Linked DNA regions of Homo sapiens: region 2 is linked to region 1. Evidence: promoter capture Hi-C in 16 types of primary human blood cells and fetal thymus (Javierre and others, 2016). All regions are on one chromosome and are shown on one strand. Each heading gives the region's core, a stretch centred on a gene start or on the middle of the fragment in contact. The rest is flanking DNA. Distances are from core to core; before and after follow the strand shown. Region 1 holds the start of GPER1 (G protein-coupled estrogen receptor 1). Region 2 holds the start of CHLSN (cholesin).

Region 1 (4,083 bases), core at 1,124-3,623:
GGAGGATGGCTTGAGCCTGGGAGGTGGAGGCTGCAGTGAGCTGAGATCAGGCCACTGCACACTGGCCTGGGCAACAGAGCAAAATCCTGTCTCAAAAAAAAAAAAAGATTTAAAAATCGGCAAAAGGTCTCTATGCCTTACAAATAGTCCACGAGATTCCTGCCATGCCGTCACACATCAAGTATTAAGTAGGTCTTGGAGACGGAAGTTCCTGCAGTCCGGGCCCTGTCTCTTACATCAGTAGCTGTACAGTACAAGTTACTTACCCGCCCAGTGCCCACAGGAGAAGGCTGCGCTCCAAGACCCAGATGCCCCGATCCGCTGACTCTATGCTGCAAGCAGGAAATCTAGGAGTATCGGCCACTCGCCCGCCCAGGGCAGGCTCCCCAGGAAACCCAGGGCACGTGAGTGGAGAGCTTGGGAGCTGAGCTCTTCCTCAGCCGCTGGGATGGGCAGAGAGACCAGAAGCCATGGGTTTGCACTAGCAGGGTGCAGCTATTTTTAAGTGACATGTCTCAGCTATTTCAAGGTTTGAATTTTTATTTTACTTATTTTTTTCTGTACTTTCTCATGACTCACATCTTTCAAAATTGTGTCTCAGGCATTTTTAATGCTGAAATCATCTCAACTTCACAGCTGGTCAAAAAATGTCTAAGAGCAAATCAGCTCTTTATCATCCAAATACAAAAAGGTACATATTAGAGTTGTCAACTTTCTACTGCTGGAAGAAAACTCCACGTTAGTATTTTTCCATTAAAAAATTAACACAGCATTCTGTTTAGGAAATGTGTGTATATTTCCTAAAATACACATCTGAAAGACTTTAAATTGCTATTGCACAGATGCCTTGAGCCCCAGCAGGTCCCGAGGGGCCGAGTGCCCCTGGAGGCCCAGCACCCCACTCTTGCACCTGCACCAGCTCTCCTGGCGGGGAGCAGGTCCCGAGGGGCCGAGTGCACCTGGAGGCCCAGCACCCCAGTCCTCTGCCTGCACCAGCTCTCCTGGGGGGGAGGGGGAAGGGGGGAGCCCACGCAGGTCTCTGAACCACGCCTCAGGCTGCAGCAGCCGCATTACTCATACTCAGCGGACAAAGGATCACTCAGCATTCAATCTCACCACTTCAAAACATTACAGAGGGAAAACGACACCTAGAAGTAGGAGTGAGATTCGCTGAAGTTCCCTTCTGAGGAAGACCCACCCCTCCGCCTGGAGAGCCGGGGCTGGCGGTGCCTGAGGACCCCTTCGGCCTGGACAGCCCACGCGGGCTTGGGGGGCCTCGCTCTGCCCTCATGGGGCGGCCATCGGTTCCCGAAGCGGCGAGTGAAAATTCAAATGGCCAGTAGGGGGCGCACTCGGAAGTGGCCGCCCCGCATGAGGCAGTTCAGCGGCCCCGAGAGTCCGGGGAGGGAGGTTTATTCTCCGCCTGCACGAGACTGTGAAATCCGCAACCATGAGCAGGAGAGGCGGCCCTGGTGGGGAAGAGGCCACCAACATCTGGACGGCAGGTAAGTTCCGACGCTTCTGCAGCGAGCGCGGGAGGAGGGACCTGAGGCACCGCTAACACTCAGAGAAAACTACCGGCTGAGGGTCCCTGGTCTGAATGCTTGGGACCGGAAGAGTTTCGGAGTTCAGATTTTTGCAGATTTTGGAATATCTGCAGGTACAGAATGAGAAAGCTAAATACGAAATTCATTTGTGTTTCATACACACCTTATACACACTGCCTGAAGGCAACTTTATAAAAACACTTTTAACAATTTCATGCATAAAACAAACTTTGAACTGCCTGGACTGCAGCCCGCCACACGAGGTCAGGTGTGGAATTTTCCACTTGTGTCACGACGCTCCAACAGTGTCGGACTGTGGGGCACTCTGGATTTCAGATTTCCAGATGCTTAACCAGTACTCAGATTCCTAAGTTACTTGTCAGAAATGCCTATTTCTTGGGATTACACTTCTCTCTGCAAATGTCTGTGAAATTCCTGTTAAATTCTTTATGGATCATGCACATGCTACTAAGTTAATTATGAAATTTAGTGTTTAACGCAGGTCAGTTGCAAAAACAAGAATATTGCTTGCTTCAACCCAGGAGGACAGGTTATTGCCTAAAAGATACACAACACCTAGTATGATGCCTTCAAACTTAAAGAAAGGTTTGTATCTGTGGGTGAAGAAAAGCAGTTAAACCAGAAACTTCCACAAAAACAAGTCTAGTAGAACTGAGCTGATTGCCAAAGTGTGGGAGAAAAAGGGCCAGCAAAAAAATGGTTAACACTAGCCTTCTGAGGAGGCCGCCCAGAGCCTGGCCAGAGAGGAGCCAGAGAGGAGCGGGGCGGAGGGGGCCTATAAAGCCCTGTGCCAAGGGGCAGACTCACTGGCTCAGAGGGAGGACGCACCCGCCAGCCAGCCGGGAACCTTCCCTCGCGGGCTCCCAGGGCGGGTCTCTTCCTCTCTCTAGCCCTGCTCAGGCATTCGGCAGGTCCAGCAGAGGTACACCTCCTGCAGCGGGTTCCAAGTGCACCTCCAGCCTGATGGGCCTGACCAAGGAGGCTTCCAGGAGCACAGAAGGGGCTGCAACCCAGGTAGGACTCAGCCTCGGCCTGGCGGTGCCATACCACTGACTAGGGGAGCGGGTGGGTGGTGCCACCCAGGCCGCTGTCCTGTTATGGGAACAGCTGAACACAGACCAGACACCTCACCCCCTGGTGAGAGCAGCACCCAGCTTCCCAAACTCAAGGCACAGACCCCTCTCCCCCGGAGCTCCGGTGGTCTCAGCGTGACCGCAGCAGGGGCTTTGCCTGGACGGCCTTTCTAACTCGTGCTGAAAGCAGGACCCAGTATTCCGTCACGTTCTGTCCCAGCAAGAACGTGTCTCACTTCAAGAAAATGAGGGTGCCCACTCTGCCCTGCCCTGCGGTGCCCCAGTCACTCTCACCAACCCTGAAGCCCTGGGAGGGCCACACGCCTTTTGACAGATGCAGACTTAATACAGCTGACTAAAGTGTGGCTTTATTTCTCTATGACAAGCAGAGGAAATCTGAAATGAGGTATTGCACTGTTTATAACTCCATGGCCACCTCCAGTGAGGACGTGGGGCCAGTGGTGAATGGCACACTAGGTTCCTCTCACCCAGGACCACATCAGACACTAGGACACATCAGACACCAGGTCCCGTATCTTCTCGGTGTCTGGCAACGATCAAAAGACTCAATTTACATGGGAAAGAAATGAATGACTCGTTTTTAAACTATTTTTCCCTTGGAGTTCATTTAACAAAATTAGGAAAGAAAATAAACGTTAAGTTGAGGGTTCTGCCCACCTTTAAACTTCCTGCCACGCCACGGTCTAATACGTTCCAAAATTTCTACATTTAAAGAGCAAAACAAGTCCTCTGTGCCGTTTTTAAGAAATTAAATACAGAGGCGAAATGCGGAGTCTTTCAACCTTCCCGACAGAGCCTGAGAGCAGAGGCATTTATGCTGTTCAATGGTATTATCTACTAAAGATGAATCAAGAGTGCAAAATAACCAAAATCAAATTCACCAGCCCCAGCTAAGTGAAGGTTATTCAGTACTTTTAGAATAACTGACACAGAGGCAGTGATTCATCTTGTCTTCCCCACCCGCCTGTTTTTGAGATGGGGCCTCACTGCAGTAGCTCAGGCTCGAGTGCAGTGGTGTGATCTCGGCTGAGGCTCGAGTGCAGTGGTGTGATCTCGGCTGAGGCTCGAGTGCAGTGGTGTGATCTTGGCTCACTGCAACCTCTACCTGCCAGGCTCAGGCGATCCTCCTGCCTCAGCCTCCCGAGTAGCTGGGACTACAGGCGCACACCACTATGCCCAGCTACTTTTTTTGTCTTTTTTTAGTAGAGACAGGGTTTCGCCATGTTACCCAGGCTGGTCTCGAACTCCTGAACTTGAGCAATCCTCCCACCTCATCTTCCTGAAGTGCTGGGATTATAGGCCAGCCTTTTTTTTTTTTTTTTTTTTAAGTAAGTATTTTCAAGCAATAGGTCAACAAATCTCTAGTCTGGTTTTGCAGCACTTCAAAACAATAACCCCTGGCCCGGCGCGGTGGATCACAC
Region 2 (4,083 bases), core at 975-3,474, 50 kb after region 1:
TATAAATATATGTATAAATATATAAGTATATATAAATATATATAAATATAAGTATATATAAATTTATATAAATGTGTATATAAATATATATACATAAATATATATAAATATATACATAAATATATAAATATATATACATAAATATGTATAAATATACATAATTATAAATATATACACAAATATATAAATATATATAAACATATATAAATATATAAAATATATATAAATATATATAAACATATATAAATATATAAAATATATATAAATATATATAAACATATATAAATATATATAAACATAAATATATAAATATATAAACATATAAATATATATAAACATATATATAAATATATATAAATATATAAACATATATATAAATATATATAAACATATATATAAATATATATAAACATATATATAAATATATATAAACATATATAAACATATATAAATATATAAACATATATAAACATATAAATATATATAAACATATATAAATATATATAAACATATATATGAACATATATAAACATATATAAACATATAAACATAAACATATATAAACATATATAAACATATATAAATATATATAAATATATAAAAATAAATATATATATGCGGATGTGTGTATAAACTGTGTATATATATAACTATATATATAACCATATATATGTACTTATATATATCATCTACACATATATCATCTCAAGCTTAAGAATTCGTAATCAATACCCCTGATCACCCTCCACAAACCTGAGCTTCCTAGTGTTCATCCTCTCCATAAACATCCATCTGATGAGGTTCACATAGTAGCTCAAGCTTAAAACCTTGGTCCATCCATAAATCCTCTCTTTCTCACATACTCGTCCAACCCACCACAAACTCCTGTTGGTTTACCACTGAAATACACCCAGAATGTGACTCCCTTAAGATCCCATAGGTACCCAGTCCAAGCCACCACCTCTCACGATGGCTTTTAAACTCCTAAATCAGATGGTGTGTCACCTCCACTCAAAAAACTTCCCAAGCTGTCCCCTTCCACTTGGAGGGAAAGTCAAGGTCCTTGCCACTTGGTAAGGTCCACACGACTGCCCTGGCCCCTCCTCGCATCTCTGGGAACTCACCTCCTCTTTCTCTCTCTGTTCCCAAATTGGCTGCAGCCACACTGGGCTCCCTGCTGTTTCCCCTGCACCTGCTGTTTCCTCGACCTGGAATGTTCTGGTGCCTCACTCCTCCTCCTGCTTCCTTTCCATTCTCAAAACCCCTGTTCTCATCTTCTCCATGGCACTTACCATCACCTGCTCTGTGCACCTTGTTCATCTGTCTCTCCCCTCCAGAATGGAAGTTCACTAGATCACAGACTTGTCTCCACTTGTTGACAGCTGTAGCCCAATGCCCCGAACAGTGCAGGAGGAACCCAATGAACGTTTTTTAAAAATGAATGAATGAATGACGGAAGGAAGGAAACGGAAAGCATGCTTATGATGGAAAGTGAGGCCAAGCGCGTTGGCTCACTCCTGTAATCCCAGCACTTTGGGAGGCCGAGGCAGGAGGATCCATCGCTTGAGCCCAAGAATTCGAGACCAGCCTGGGTAACATGGTGAGACCCCATTTCTACAAAAAACATTTTTAAAAATTATCCGGGTGTGGTGGCGCGCGCATGTGGTCCCAGCTACTTGGGAGGATGAGGCGGGAGGACGGCTTGAGCCCAGGAGGTGGAGGCTGCAGTGAGCTATGATCACGCCATTGCACTCCAGCCTGGGTGGCACAGCGAGACACTGCCTCAAAAATTGAAAAAGAGAAAGTGGGAGCTGAAAGCCTCGGAGGGCAATCAGGGCGTCTTCAGAGAAAGACAATGAAACCAGAGCCACTGCAAGCCCTGACGGCCTGAAACCTAGGAGCCAGCTGAGTCCCTTCCACTCGCCCGCGCTGAGTTAACCCAGAGGCGGGTGCGGGTGTCGGAGCCCGCGCCGGGACGCACCGGCCGCACCGGCCGCACCAGCCTCCCCAGCACCGCGGACCCCAGGGCCGCCGCCCGGTCGCGCCGCGCCGGGCCTCCGCGCACCCACGTGGAGGGGGCGGAGCCCCGCGGGAGCCCGCCCCGGGGCTCTGGGTCTCCTGGCGCCCTGACCCGCCGGCCACCCCGCCGCCGCCCCACGCGCCTACCTGCGCCCACCTGCGCCCACGTCGCCCACCTAAGCGTGAACAGCTGCGTCGCGGACGCCGCCTTCCGGCAGGGACCCGCGCCCCAGGTAAGCGTTAGTCCCGCCTTCAGGAGTGCGGAGCCTCCCATTGGACGAGGTCTGCGTCCGTCTCTCCGCCGGCTAATGGCAAGCGGCGGCAGCACGGGGGGCGGTTCCAGGACCGGGCGCGGGCTACTGACGCCATCTCTAGAGGCCTAGAGTTGCTTGGAGAGGAGCTGGTTGCCAAGGCAACCCGCCCTGCCCAGAACAAGTGCAGATGACTAGGTTTGGGCCCCGCAGGGCTTGGGGGTCTGGGGTGCAAGCTGCCCCGGCCGGGCTGGCGTCCCGGGGTGGGGCCTCCGCCGAGGGTCCAGGGTATGGAGCTCGGCTCGGAGTCGAAATGGATGAGCTACGGCTATTGGGATCAACAGGGCTAGGACTTAAACTTCGTGCTGAATTTAAAAAATCAGGATAGGTGCTAAAAAATACACAGGGTGGGTAGTGTTATAATAATGCTTGTGTCCGGGAGCGGTGACTCACGCCTGTGATCCCAGCATTTTGGGAGGCCCAGGCGGGCGGATCGCTTGAGCTCAGGAGTTCGAGACCCGCCTGGCCAACATGACGAAACCCCGTAACCCCGTCTCTGCTAAAAATACAAAAATTAGCCAGGCGTGGTGGCAGGTGCCTGTAATCCCAGCTACTCGGGAGGCTGAGGCAGGAAAATCGTTTAAGCCCGGGAGGTGGAGGTTGCAGTGAGCCGAGATCGTGCCACTGCACTCCAGCCTGGGCGACAGAATGAGACTCTGTTTTAAAAAATAAAAAATAAATTAAAAAAATAAAAATTAGCCGGGTATGGTGGCACGTGCCTGTAGTTCCTGATACTCTGGACGCTGAGGTGGGAGGATCGCTGGAGCCTGGGAGATGGAGGCTGCAGTGAGCTATGATCAAGGCACTGCACTCCAGCCTGGGCAACAGAGCCAGACCCCGTCTAAAAAAAAAAAAGAAAAAAAAGCATGCTTTCAAGTCACCCAGTAAGTTAAGTGCTTGGCAGCCGTATCAAGTATGATGTACGTTGCCTCAGGAATCCAAAGGTGACAAGCAAAGAAGGTGCACTCTTCCTTACTGGTAGAAGATTGTATTTGGTTCCTTTTTCTGCATAACAAATTAACCCAACATTTAGCAGCCTAAAAGAACATTTATTTTTTCATGGTATCCGCGGTCAGGAAAGTGGGCGTGGCTAAGCTCTGTGCCTTTGCCTCAAGGGTTCACCAAGTTGTGGTCAAGGTGTCCCCCCAGGGTTGTGGTTTCATCGGAAAGCTTATCTGGAATGATCCACTCCCAAGCTCACACACACGGATATTGTAAGGACTCAGTCCTCCAAGGTCATTAGAGAAGGGCCTCAGCCTTGCTGGCTGCTGCCCAAAGGCCACCCTCAGTTCCTTGGTACATGGGCCTTACCACAAGGAAGCTCACAACACTGCAGCTGGCTTGCCTTAGACGGTGCAAGCACACACAAGAGGAGGCACACACAAGACGCACATCACAGTCTCCTTGCACCCTAATCTCAGAAGTGACTTCCCTAGGCTTTTGCCATATTCTGTTCATTAGAAGTCGGCCGGGTGCGGTGGCTCACACCTGTAATCCCAGCACTTTGGGAGGCTGAGGTGGATGGATCACTTGAAGTCAGGAGTTCAACACCAGCCTGGCCAACGTGGCAAAACTCCATCTCTACTAAAAATACAAAAATTAGCCAGGCATGGTGGCATGTACCTATAATCCCAGCTACTCAGGAGGCTGAGGCATCAGAACCTATTGAACCCGGGAGGCAGAGGTTGCAATGAGCTGAGACCGCGCCACTGCACTCCAGCCTGGGCGACAGAGCAAGACTCCAGCTCAAAAA

What was found. The method cuts DNA at HindIII sites, captures the fragments that hold promoters and counts their contacts. A CHiCAGO score of 5 or more calls a contact.
Region 2: a contact is called between the fragment with the promoter of CHLSN here and the fragment with the promoter of GPER1 in region 1, in 1 of 17 cell types (M2 macrophages). The highest score is 7.8, in M2 macrophages.

The regions. Positions count from the first base shown.
Region 1 is chr7:1,085,740-1,089,822 of GRCh38, forward strand. It overlaps GPER1 (G protein-coupled estrogen receptor 1), which reads left to right and starts at 2,374. Exons shown (of 2, transcript NM_001098201.3): 1 at 2,374-2,582. All of the region lies in intron 2 of CHLSN (cholesin), which reads right to left. The HindIII fragment of the contact is 14,676 bases long and covers 1-4,083 here.
Region 2 is chr7:1,136,023-1,140,105 of GRCh38, forward strand. It overlaps CHLSN (cholesin), which reads right to left and starts at 2,225. Exons shown (of 5, transcript NM_001318252.2): 1 at 1,293-2,225. RefSeq lists silencers at 1,785-1,834, 1,845-2,294, 2,495-2,634 and an enhancer at 2,355-2,454. The HindIII fragment of the contact is 2,681 bases long and covers 818-3,498 here.